Regions from separate parts of the Homo sapiens genome. Here regions 2, 3 and 4 are each linked to region 1. The links are contacts of gene promoters, found by promoter capture Hi-C in blood cells and fetal thymus (Javierre and others, 2016). All regions are on one chromosome and are shown on one strand. The core of a region is centred on a gene start or on the middle of the fragment in contact, and the rest is flanking DNA. Distances in the headings are between cores, read along the strand shown.

Region 1 (2,944 bases), core at 165-2,664:
TTCCAGAACCCTCTTTCCAGCTTCGACTGCCTTGTTCTTAGTGAGCACTGCCCGGGAATCCCTGAGCCCCTCACATAGTGACCCTGCACTGGAGGGCTCACCCGAGACTCAGCCAGATTCCCAGCTAGACAGGCCCGGGCCTGAGTCCTAGAGGAACCCCCAGGCTCCCTTGCTATGACCCAGAGTTTAGCCCAGCCCTTCAGTGGCCAAGGCTGGAGGGCATGTGTCTGATGAGGATGACAGTGGGCTGGGGGTGGGGCTCAGAGGAGATCCTAAGGAGGCCTGGGGATGGGAATCCTGGATGGGGAGATCAGGCAAGGGTGGGAAGGCGGACCGCCCCCAGGACAGGGACCATAGTCGGACACAGGACATAGTCGCACACAACTTGCCCTCAGAAGCGGCAGGCGAGGCTACTGACCTTTGGGATTCCGGTACCGGTCCTCCGATCTGGCTGCTGGTACTGGCTCAGCTGCTGGGTGGGAGGAAGTGGGCGGGGCCAGTCAGGGCCTCCTCTGGCCTGGGCTGCCCCACCCCTGCATGCCCTCTATGTTCCCGGAGCTACTTCCTCCTTCCATGACAGCAGCTTCAAGACCCCTCGGTCCTCCCTGCCCCCAGTACTTGGGAGACAGATATGGGGTGGGGGTACCGGAAGCCCTGCCCCCAGCCCCCTTTCTGCCTTTGACCCTCATGGTGGCTTTGAGCAGGCATCTGAATGAGACAGGAGGGACAGGGAAATCTCAGTATTTTGAGAGGCCAAGACAGGAGGATCGCTTGGGTCCAGGAGTTTGAGACCAGCCTGGGCAACATAGGGACACCCTGTCTCTCTTTTTTTTTTTTTTTTTAAAGAGAGACAGGAAGAAAGTCACAGCCCGGAGGATCTTTCACCTCCCAGAGGAGGGGACCACATTTGGATCTTGCATCTTCCAGGGTCCGGTTGGGACAGCCTCTCCCCTCCCGACCCCCAGGCACCGCCCTCAGCCTCTCTTCCTCCTGAGCCTAGTTCTTCCACGGTCCTGGTTGCTAACTCTGGTTTGCTCCTCATGCCCAGCTCAGCCTGATGCTCTCCAGGCAGGAGAGGAACTGGGGCCACAGGCTCCTGAGCCCATCACCACGTGCAGCTGACACCCACAGACCCAGGCCCCAGGGCCATGAGAGGGAGACAGGCGGTAAAGAGTGAGAGACAGAGGAGGAGGGTGGAGCAAGCAGGAGGCAGAGCCGCAGGGCCCAGACAGCTGGAGATGAGAGCAAACCCCACAGGCCTCGTCGTGGGTTCTGTACCTGAGAGCAGCAGCAGCAACGCCACCATCCAGTGGCTGGGCACAGGAGACAACGCCAGCCTGGCCATGGTCACCGCTCTGTCCCCGACCCCAAACCCGTGACAACGTCCGAGGCTCCTTGGAGGAAAACGTGTAACTGCACCGGCTGCAGCCTGTCCCCTCCCCGCCTCTTCCTCACCAGGCCCCTTCCTGCCATGCAAATTGGGACCCAGGGGAGGCACCAGCTCTCCGGGGACCCTGGGGGAGGGCAGGCTTTTGTCAGCTGGGCCGCTAAGGTTTGGCGGTCGCCCAGCTTGGGCAGCACAGCTGGGGTCCTCTGTGGATGCCTCTGGGGGGCCTCTCAGTCTTCTGGGGGAAGCCTGTGCTCCCCTCTGTCTGTGCTTACCCCACCGGTGGTCATCCCCTGGGCCAGCCAGCCTCCCCTCTGCCGTCTGCCAACTCCCCGAAGGGCCGAGCCCGGCAAGTCTCTATTCCTGGGCCGTGAGCGAAATAGGCACCTGTCCTATGAATGAACCTGAACTTAGCTCCTCTGTCCTGAACTATTCCTCACCCAGCGGGAAGAGGAGCACTGAAGAAGGACAGGGCAGCCACAGACCCAGGTCAGGCATCTGGAGGGGCCCAGAGCAGAGCCTCTTGGCTGGAGTGCAGGCAGCCATGTTGGAAGTTGACCCTGTGGAGGATGGGAGCCACAGAGGTTCTGGAGCAAGAGCAGGTCAAGTGTGGCAGCCACTGGGAGAAGATTCAGTCCAGGTCTTGGTGAGAGGCCTCCCTTCCTCATGCTGTGAAAGAGTATGTAGGGGCTGCCAAACAGGGTGGATGTAGGTGGAGACAGCTTTGCGAAAATCCACCACGCAGCCACTGGGGGCTTCTTCAGGGAGTTCTTAACTGTGGGACTCTGAGTGCGTTGAATTGTTGTCTGCAGGTCCAGGGGGTCTTGGGCAGGGAACAGGAGCTGGTGTGGGGGAGCCCTCAGGTCCTCCAGCTGTATCCTGCCTGTCCTCAGAGTGCTGGATGGAGCCACAGTGCTCAGGAACTGATATAAACTCACCTTTGCGCCCCTGCCCCTGGGTCCAATGCAGCCCCTTCAGAGATGCCCTTGTGCAGGGCACAACATGCACAAGTGTACACAGCATGCTTGCAGACCTCAGCCCTGCAGCTGAGCCCTCTGAATTTTATGTTTCCTGGCAGCTTCTTTTTTGTCTCTCATCCTCGACCCCCAGGAGAGGAAGAGATGCTAAATCGTCGGTGCCCTCTGTCCACCTCTCACTCTCCTCACAACCCTCCGTTTTCCAGTCTGTGCTGGGGCAGGTCTGTCTGGATTTAGGGAGAAGCAGAACCACCTCCCATGCCATGGTTGGAAGGCAGAGGGTCTGGGTGGTCCCTCTTTAGATCTTGGCCTAGGCCTCGGACCTGATAAGGTGGGGGCCACTCTCAAGGGGTGCAGGCCAGGACCTGAGCCACGGAAGTCAGGGGCAGGAGGGTTAAGGTTTCATCCGAGGAACAGCCCGTTCCGGGCAGCCCCAGATGTTCTTTCTTGTTTCCAGATGTTCCAAATGAAAAAACATTTCTCTGAAAAGCTGTCAGATGTTCAGTTCATGGAATAAACAGCTCAGAAATATAAACATCACCTGAGGTCAGCTTGAGGCCCATGGGCCCGCATGCTGGTG
Region 2 (2,944 bases), core at 119-2,618, 110 kb after region 1:
TCTCAATTCCGGTCTCCAGTGAAGGCTGTACTTGGTGCATCTCAGCCTAGCTGTCCCAGCACGCAAGCAAAATGTACGATTCCCTCCTCTCCCTTCCTGAAAGGCCTGTAGACTGACATTAAGCAGGAATTTAAAAAGTCTGAAGCAAGTTTATCCAGTAGATGGCTGGGGGTGCTACTCGCGCTGTCTCTGAGGCCCTCCTTTGCAGACATCATGACCGTAAGGCTTTTGGGGCCAGCATCTTCCCAGTTCCCTGTAGGTCACGAGGGGCCACTTCTCCCACTTCCTGGGGTCAGCACTGTCCTCTGTGGGCTGCAGAGCAGGCAGCTCAAGGCACTTGGTTTGGGAAGCCTGGTCTCCCTGCAAAGCCGGGAGGCATCAAGCTCTAATTGTGGTGACCAGGCCCTCAGTCACAGCTGGGGCCACCAGAACAGAGGGGCCGCCCTCGCTCAGAGGGCGTCTGGAGTCACTGGGGGCTGGGGCTCTGGGGGCTCGTGGAAGTAGTAGGGCTGGAAGAGTCTCTCGTGGCTGCACAGCTCCATGGCCCGGTAGGTGTGTGCGAGGAGGTGGGGGAAGCGAGATGTGAAGTAGCACACGAAGTCGTCGGGGAGGGACCCCAGCGTCTCCCGCACCTCTGCAGGCAGCTCCCGGTAGTGGTGCTTCTGCAAAGAGTTAGAAAGCTCGGGAGATTAGAAAGGGGTTAGAAAGCTCGGGAAATGTTGGCAAAACACCCTTTCATCATGCAAGGAAGAGACAGAATGTGAGTGTTGGTTTTTGGTAAAGAAAAAGAAAAAAGGCTTATGTATCCAAGAATCCAGCCCCGTCATCTCGCCTGCTACCCTCACTCAGGAGGAGGCCTTGAAGTGAGCAAGGCCCAGCCAGTCCAGGGGGTGCTCAGGCCTTCTGTGACAGTCAGGACCTGGAGACACTCCTGGCCACCTCAGGAGGAGTAAAGTCGCCTGAGATTGGAGTGTCCGTCCCAGTGGGGTCCCCGCATTTGAGGTATGTTTATACATGTTTACACACAGTGGCTGCATCAGACAGGGAGAGGGCCCCACAAAAGTCAGCGACCAGAGACCATGAGGGACATGGGCCGCAGAGCACTGCTTCCCGGAGCTTCACCTGCACCTACGTCCCTGAAGGGAAAATCAGCGTAAGAGAGGCAACAGCCTGCAGTTTGCCAAGTCCAGCTGAAGCCGCCTAGCTCCTGAGAGATGAGAATGCCAGTACAGATAAAAGATTTATAAAGAATGGATGAAAGGAGGAAGGTGTCCATGTCATGGCCACTGGGTCTCCTCCCCAGCATTTACAAACTGCTTACCTTATTTCTCATGGCTCGGAGGAGATCTCTGACAGAACCACCTTTATAGGTCCTGAATTTACGCAGGTCTAGAAAAACATTGAGGGAAGCAATGGGTAATCAAATTTAAAACTAATACATTTTAAAAGAAAACAATTCATGGGGTCCTGGGATTAGGGAGTTGGACTGAAAGGTGAGGTCACTCCACACCTAGGCATGGGAGCAGATCCTCCCATCCAACCCAAGGGTGGTATCCCCCTGAACCCCACCTGGTGATCACACCCAGGTCAGAAATGACCACCTAGAGCACGACACCATCACTCACCTGTCACTCTAGGGAACAAAAATGAAACACACATCAGTGTAACCAAACCACAGAGGACACACCCAAGAAAGTCTCAAACCTGACAGGTGGGATGTGGGGCCTGAACAGCCTGGAGCGGCCATTTCCACGTTTACTTTTTGGAAAGGCGGCAGCGACTTTTGCAACCTGCCCTCTCACACGCTGCAGCATGATCACCTGTCTGGAGGGGGACAGTGATGTTCTCCCGCCAGTCCATCTTCACCACGGCTCTCCCGCCTCTCTCTAACTGCTTCACGATCGGGCCATCCAGGGATTCCTTTTCTATTCTGTCGCTCACGTCCTGTGAGAGAAACAAGGGCAGCAGATGATGGTCAGTGCTGGAGATGCTGAGAGCTGTGCGACTGGGACTCAGTAACAGATCATCACTGACACATAAGCCTGCCCCAGAGCTGGGCAGCAGGCACCCTGCCCCCTCCCTCCCTCATCCATGACTTTCCCTGTGAGCTGCTCTGTTCCTCACGAAGCACAGGCCCACAGAGAGCTTCTCCCATGTCAGAGAGGTGTCACAGAGTACACCTGCATATAGACCACGAACGCATACCCTGAATTTCACATGTGCACACACACGCCATGTGTACGGAGCCGCAAGTGCAATCTATATCCAATGAACCAAAACCAAAAAGAAAAGGAAAGCTCAGATTTGATGTGCATCCCGTGCTTTGTCTACTCACTGAAACAGGGTATGCTCAAGCCCATAACTGGTGGAGGGTCGCCACTCTTCCCTCCACCAGTAGAAAAGACCTGTGAAGCTGGGCCTTCTTCTCAAAGAGGAAACTTGGTGGCAAGAGTATGGGCTCCAGAGGCTCCTGTTGGGATTCAAACCTTGCTCTGCATTTGACTTTGGTAATAAGGAGAGGGTCAGGAAGCACCCAAGTATGGCCTCTTGAAGTCCCACCAGTAAGACAGGTCGACAGCTGAGGACACAGGGAGTGGTGAGCCCTGTCTACATCAATGTTAAGTAGCCTTAGGAGACCCTTTTCTCAGAGCAGCCTTTTCTATGATGAAGATGAAGCCAGACTGGCTGAACTCCTAATTTACAATTGTCAGAGAGAAGCTGTGGAGAGGTTAGATTGTCAACTTGGGTACACTGGGAACACACGTGTCTGAGCTGCAAAGCTGTTACGGCTAAATGACCTGAGTGGAAGCCAGGTGTGTTCGAGAGACATATGACCTGGAGATACTAAGCATTTAAATCCTGTCCCTTGGTGGGTGAAGGTCCCTTTGTGTGGGTTTTATTCCTGTTCTATATTTTGCGATCAAAATGACCTGGTTAGTTTTCA
Region 3 (2,944 bases), core at 270-2,769, 92 kb after region 1:
CTCACCCTTTTTTAAAGATAACCCCTTCTTTTTCTACTTTAGACAAGTTTTTTGGGAAGCTTCCATCTTCCTACTCAGCTCCACCTTCCTGGTCAAATGATTGGTCCAAGGTTGGCATCATGGTACCTCACCTTCTGGCTCTTTCTTTTTTTTATCCTTTTTTTTTCCTTTCTTTTTGAGACAGAGTCTTGCTCTATCGCCCAGGCTGGAGGACAGTGATGGTGTGATCTCAGCTCACTGCAACCTCTGCCTCCCAGGTTCAAGGGATTCTCCTGCCTCAACCTCCTGAGTAGATGGGATTACAGGCATCTGCCACCATGTCCACCTAATTTTTGTATTTTTAGTAGAGACGGGGTTTCACCATATTGGCCAGGCTGGTCTTGAACTCTTGACCTCAAGTGATCTGCCTGCCTCGGCCTTCCAAAGTGCTGGGATTACAGGAGTGAGCCACTGTGCCTGGCCAGAACTGCCTTCCTTTTGAAGGCTGAGTAATATTTTATTGTGCGTGTGTGCTGCATTCTGTTCATCCATTCATATATTGAGGGACACCTGTGTTGCTTCCACCTTTGGCTATTGTGAATAGTGCTGCTATCAACAGGGTTGTACAAATACCTGATCGAGACTCTGCTTTCAATTCTCTGGGGCATGTACCCAGAAGTGGAAATGCTGGATCATACTGGTAAAATATACACAACAAAATTTACCATCTTAACCTTTTTTCTTTTTTTCAGTGGTAATTCTGGCTGAGGTGAGTGGCTCACACCTGTAAATCCAGCACTTTGGGAGGCTGAGATGGGAGAATTGCTTGAGCCTAGGACTTCAAGACCAGTCTGGGTGACAAAGTGAGACCCCGTTTCTACAAAAAAAAAAAATTAAAAAGGTAATTTTGTTTAATTTTTGAGGATTCACCATCTTGTTTTCCTTACTCCTCCCTTTGATGTGCAGTTTCTGTACTCAATGGGGTCTTCTGTGAATGAGGCAGTTCCAAGACAAGCTGCCTTCTGGTCCCCCAAGTGAGGCAGGCGAAGATCACAGAGCTGAGCCTTCGCTGGCTGTGACACGCCACTCCACAAAAGCCTCTTATTAGCGACTAAGAGCCATTACGTCATCAAATCTTATCAGACCTGCCACCTTGCCTAGCAATTTTACAACAATTACTCTAGAAGAATGACTTTGTACAAACAAGCAGAAAGTATGAACGCTGGCCATCTATGCAAGTTTTAACAATCCAGGTGCTAGATCCACCCAGAACTTGCAGATTACCCTGTGTACCCACTTCGTGAGCTGCACACACAGTCCTGCTGTTCTGTTGTGTAGCCAGAGTTGAGACCCCTTTACGTACTTCCTCAGGCAACATTTGGGCCAAATCCCACTCTGGAAACCTCCTCCCTCAACTTTGTGGCCTCTGAGCAGATCACTTTCCATTTCCATTTATTTCTTTTTCTTCTTTGCTTGGTTTCTGGCACATTCCTCTTTGAACTGCCAAGATCATGCTAGGTAAATGTTTATTGAATGTAAGCTAGCAGCTTGGTTTTAGGAGACACATATTTTATAGCAAGGGGTTTCAAACTTGAACGTGTGTCAGGATCACTGGGGGGCTTGCCGCAACAGCCCACCGGGCCCCATCCCTAGAGTTCCTGAGTAGTAGGTCTGGAGGGAGGCCTGAGAATTTTTTGCATTTCTAACAGGTTCCCAGGTAATGACGCTGCTGCTGGCATCAGTATCACCCGGGAACTTCTTAGAAATGAGGACCACACTGTTTCAGCGGAATACGAAAGTGTTCTCAATTCACATAGCGTCCAGCTAATCAAAACCACAAGTAGAAACTAGAGGTGTCACCAGCCTATAGACTGACTAACAGAGACTGTGAGCTCAGTCTGGCAGAGTGGAATTATAAGGCTGTGTGACCTTGAGCAAGTTGTGTAACCTCTCTGACCTTCAGTTTGCTTATCTGCAAAATGGGATAATAATAATAGCCAACGTTTGTGACATGCTTACTACATATGCCACACACTGTTCTAAGCACTCCACAGTAAGTATCATCACATTTCATCCTCATAACAAGCCTATGACTCGATACTGTTGTTATGCCTCTTACAGATGAAGAACGTGAGACATGGTACAGTAGATGGCGGGCAGTAGCTGGCACACAGCCAGCAAGAGGCTGAACCAAGATTCCAATCCAGGCAGTTGGGACCCAACGTCTGAGCTTTCATACTAGGGAGCCCCTCTCACCCCCTTCAGACCCCCCCTCAAGGGCTTCTGAGAGGAAAGTGTGATGATTTGTAAAACGCTGGCTGATAGCCTGGTACACGGAAGCACTCAACAAAGTTTGTGGTTATTGTGAGTTGGTGCCCGGACGTGCACCTATCTGTGTCCTTGTAGGCTGTGCCCAAGGACATCCCAGCACGTGTGTTGACTATTGCACAGATCCACAGAATATCAGACCCCAAAATCATGCCCGTTGGACAGGAGGGGGCTGTCCATATTATGTAATGTGTTAATTCTTGGGTCCTTGGATGGGACAAGGTTGTGAATATGCATCACTTAGAAAACTTATCAGCGAGCGAGGAATGGAGTTGTTTACAAAACCAAGCCCTTGACGTCTTCCTGGACCTCAACCTCATCTCATCAGCTCCCCCTACGGAGTGGGGCGGAGGCGGCGGAAACGCTGAACGCTCAGGGTCGACAGGAGCAGGGGCTGCACTGCCCGCCACCTAGTGGCCAAAGTGAGCAGGTCCCCTAAAAGACACGACGCCCCGCGATCTGCGGTAAATCACATTCCTTGCGATTCTGCAATCACAGGTAGATTTGGAATGGGCTAGGATCCCCTGAGAGACTGTTTATAAGGAGGGCGGTCTATGTAGATGCACTAATTTGAGGGAGGGAGAGCGTGGGAGGGTCTCTGCGGAGGAGAGATGCTTTCTCTCTGGAAACCCTGGAC
Region 4 (2,944 bases), core at 317-2,816, 66 kb after region 1:
CTTGAAACCCACTGATAGCTCTCCATTACCCACAGGGCCAAGCCTAAATTCCAAACCTTGGCATTCCAAACCTTGGCCTGTCCCTGGACCTCTGCTCTCTGCCCAGCTCCTCTTCTACAGTCAGACAGTTTGACCCACCGGGTCATCTCAGGTCCTGTCCATTCATACACCTGGGTCTTGGCTTGGGCTCTGTCCCCAGCCTGATAGCGCCCGTCTTCCCCTGCTGCTTGGCCCCATCAAGGACTGACTTCCTTGGAACTCCATCCCTCAGCGGTCAAGTCCTCTCTTTTTCATTATCCCCGGGGCGTAGTCTTATCTTTCTGCTCTCTTTCCATGGATACATTTTCACTTCCCAACAATGCTGGGACAAGTGACCATACTGCTTATGCCTCCAGGGTTCAGATGGCACATTGCACACGCAGACACTTCCTTGGTCAAGGTTTGTTGATGATGAGCAAAATGGCTTGTTCTCTTTCTACCTGGAATGAGAATGGAGATGGAGAGAGGCATCTCTGTGTTCTACTCACTGGGGGGCTGTGACCCCAGTGCCTGGATCTCAGCTTGTTAATGGCTGTTGAAGCCATAAGACCCATGGGGACAGTAAAGTAATGCCCACAAGCCTGCTCCCCTAGAGACAGGTACTACGGAGCAAAGGAGGAGGTGGGAATGGTCTTTCTGGTTCTTACTCCAGGACTGGCAGGAAGGGGAGCTGACATGGAGAGTGGGGGAAGGGCTACTCGGGGTGCTAAGCCCAGCTTCCTGTCTGGATTTTCCTTGACTGCTGCCGGGGGCCTATCTTAGGATGGTCACAGCTGCAGAAATAGATCTCCCCCTTCACCTGTTCTTAAGCAAGGAAGACCTTGCTAACTTCCTGTCAAAAGAACGCGTGCTTTGGTAACTTTTCCAGTACGGGAGACAGTACTGGGGACGCGGGTGCTGAAGTCACCACGATTTTCCTCGTCTGAGGAGCAGTGGCTCACCTTGGCCAGGAAACAGGGCAAATAGCCGCAAGGAGAGAGGCGAGAAGCCGGCCACGTGTTTCCAGCCAGAGTCCTCAGCCTCTTCCGTGAATTCGGGCGGTGTTTCCTTCCTTGGTCTGCTCCAGAAACCACTCTTTCCTGGCAGGAAGCCCCTCTCTCTGTCAGAGTGACAGGGAACAGACCCTTTGTCCTCCTCACTCGTCTGCCCTAGCCCCCAGCCTGCTCCTGCAAAAGTCTCTGTTTCTCCTGAACTTTTCAGCTGAGTCAATCGGGCTCTGGGACCCCGAAACCAAGCCTCCCCAGTCACTCGCTTATTCACTCAACAAACACACCCCCCTTCCCCGCACTAACCCAGGCCCAGTTCTGGGAACCAGCAAGGGGAGGGGAGGGGAGCCCCGAGCAGCGCGGCGGGAGGTGGACATGCCGGGGAGGAGACTGGCCTCCTGGTGGCGGGGGAGGGCTCCTGGGGACCCCAAGTCCGCGGAGGAGGAGACAGGAGGGAGCAGGGAGATGGAAGACCCAGGAGCACGGGCGGGCTCCGCGCATGCGTGGGAAGAGACCTTGGCGTCCTCGGCGTCGCCAAGGCAACCGGCGCCAGCCATGGCCTCTGGGGCGGGCGGAAGCTGGGGTCGCTCCCCACCGCAGAGCGCAGTCCCGACGGTGAGGGCTGAGCCCGGGAGCAGATCCTGCCTTAGCTTGGGAGACGGCAGAGTGGGGAGCTGTCCCTGGAGGGGCCAGATCCTGGAGGGGTGGGGGACGAGGAGAGACAGCCCCAAACCGAGAGGAAGAGGCGTGGCAGGGAGCAGGGAGGCCGCGGGGCGGGGAGGAGAGAACCTGGCCCCTGCGGGGTTAGGGAGGCCACTGGCCGGGGGGGTTGGGGCTCGCGACGTGTCCCCATCCATTCCCCCCACCCCACCTGGCTGACTCCGCGCACACCCCCAGCCCTGGGTCACCTTCCTGCAGCCCCTCTCGTGGGCCGTCCCACCTGCGCCCCCGCAGCCAGGCCGCGTGAAGGAAGGTGAGACTCCCGGGTCCCCCCACCCCACCCCCACCATCACCACCACTCACCCTCTTCTGCCTCGCACATCCTCTGGGAGTCCCCGCAGCACAACCCGCCAACCCATTCTTCACCCCCGGGACAGGGGTGTCAGGGGGAGGGGGACTCGGAGGCCCGGCGTGGGCTTGCTGAACCCCGCTTCCTAGACCTGCTGGAACTGATGATGCTGCAGAACGCGCAGATGCACCAGCTGCTGCTGAGTCGCCTGGTGGCTGGAGCGCTGCAGCCCCGGCCTGCCTCGCCCTGCCCTCAGGTGCGTGTGGGTGGGCCGCCGGGGTCGCTCACCTGTGGGTCCAGGGATGCGGATCCACCTGGGGTTCCTGTTCAGGGGGGAAAAGAACTGGGAGACAGAGGAGCAGGAAGCCAGCCCGTCTCTCTGGCTGGGGCTGTTTGGCATCTGTCATGTTTCAGCCTCCATGAAAGGTTGGGGCGGGGAAGAGACCCCCCAAAGTCCAGACCACCGAGGTCTTGTTTTCAAGGAGGTTTCCCTGTAGTGCCTCCCCCACTGGACTTAAGGCTCCAGGAAGGTAGGCACCCTGGTAACCCTGCCCCATGCATCATGAGCGTCTGGCCTGGTGCCTGACACCGTGTAGGGGCTCAGCTGATATTTGTTGAACGAGTGAATGAATAAATGAATGGTTAGGGATACAAAGCCAGGTTGGCTGTGATGGCACATGGAGAGGTACAAAGCACAAGTGCACATAGGGTTGGGGGATGGGGACAGGCTCCTTGGAGGAGCAGAGGATCTTAGAACCAGCCCTTGAAAGCCAGGTAGGATTTTGACCCTTGGAGGAGGCGAAGGGTGTGTCCCCCATCCAGGCTGGCAGGGGCAGAGTCAGGAGACAGAATGGGGGAAACCGTGTGCGGCAGTGTGTGTGTGCAAGAGTGTGTGTGTGTATGTGTGTGC

What was found. Contacts are between HindIII fragments. The CHiCAGO score rates a contact against its expected background, and 5 or more counts as called.
Region 2: a contact is called between a fragment that was not itself captured here and the fragment with the promoter of CD79B in region 1, in 3 of 17 cell types (total CD8 T cells, naive CD4 T cells and naive CD8 T cells). The highest score is 6.8, in total CD8 T cells.
Region 3: a fragment that was not itself captured here is called in contact with the fragment with the promoter of CD79B in region 1 in 13 of 17 cell types (total B cells, naive B cells, total CD8 T cells and 10 more); the score reaches 12.7 in total B cells.
Region 4: a contact is called between the fragment with the promoter of PRR29 here and the fragment with the promoter of CD79B in region 1, in 17 of 17 cell types (naive CD8 T cells, endothelial precursors, total CD8 T cells and 14 more). The highest score is 24.7, in naive CD8 T cells.

Annotation. Positions count from the first base shown.
Region 1 is chr17:63,930,917-63,933,860 of GRCh38, forward strand. CD79B (CD79b molecule) reads right to left here and starts at 1,415. Exons shown (of 6, transcript NM_000626.4): 1 at 1,279-1,415; 2 at 419-469. The coding sequence starts at 1,345. RefSeq lists a silencer at 265-334 and enhancers at 1,032-1,421, 1,395-2,065, 1,922-2,031, 2,042-2,091, 2,665-2,944 and 2 more. The HindIII fragment of the contact is 15,563 bases long and covers 1-2,944 here.
Region 2 is chr17:64,043,539-64,046,482 of GRCh38, forward strand. ERN1 (endoplasmic reticulum to nucleus signaling 1) reads right to left here. Exons shown (of 22, transcript NM_001433.5): 20 at 1,821-1,944; 21 at 1,322-1,389; 22 at 1-662. The coding sequence ends at 450. Among named protein-coding and RNA genes, the nearest start is that of ICAM2, 24 kb to the left of the region's middle. The HindIII fragment of the contact is 4,060 bases long and covers 1-2,944 here.
Region 3 is chr17:64,023,254-64,026,197 of GRCh38, forward strand. No RefSeq gene overlaps it. Among named protein-coding and RNA genes, the nearest start is that of ICAM2, 4.1 kb to the left of the region's middle. RefSeq lists cis regulatory regions at 913-1,350, 2,452-2,897 and an enhancer at 2,495-2,544. The HindIII fragment of the contact is 2,924 bases long and covers 58-2,944 here.
Region 4 is chr17:63,996,785-63,999,728 of GRCh38, forward strand. It overlaps PRR29 (proline rich 29), which reads left to right and starts at 1,567. Exons shown (of 6, transcript NM_001164257.2): 1 at 1,567-1,640; 2 at 1,923-1,998; 3 at 2,184-2,290. The coding sequence starts at 1,581. It overlaps PRR29-AS1 (PRR29 antisense RNA 1), which reads right to left. Exons shown (of 3, transcript NR_126169.1): 1 at 1,541-2,944; 2 at 981-1,138; 3 at 1-479. RefSeq lists a silencer at 1,450-1,499 and an enhancer at 1,753-2,730. The HindIII fragment of the contact is 13,369 bases long and covers 1-2,944 here.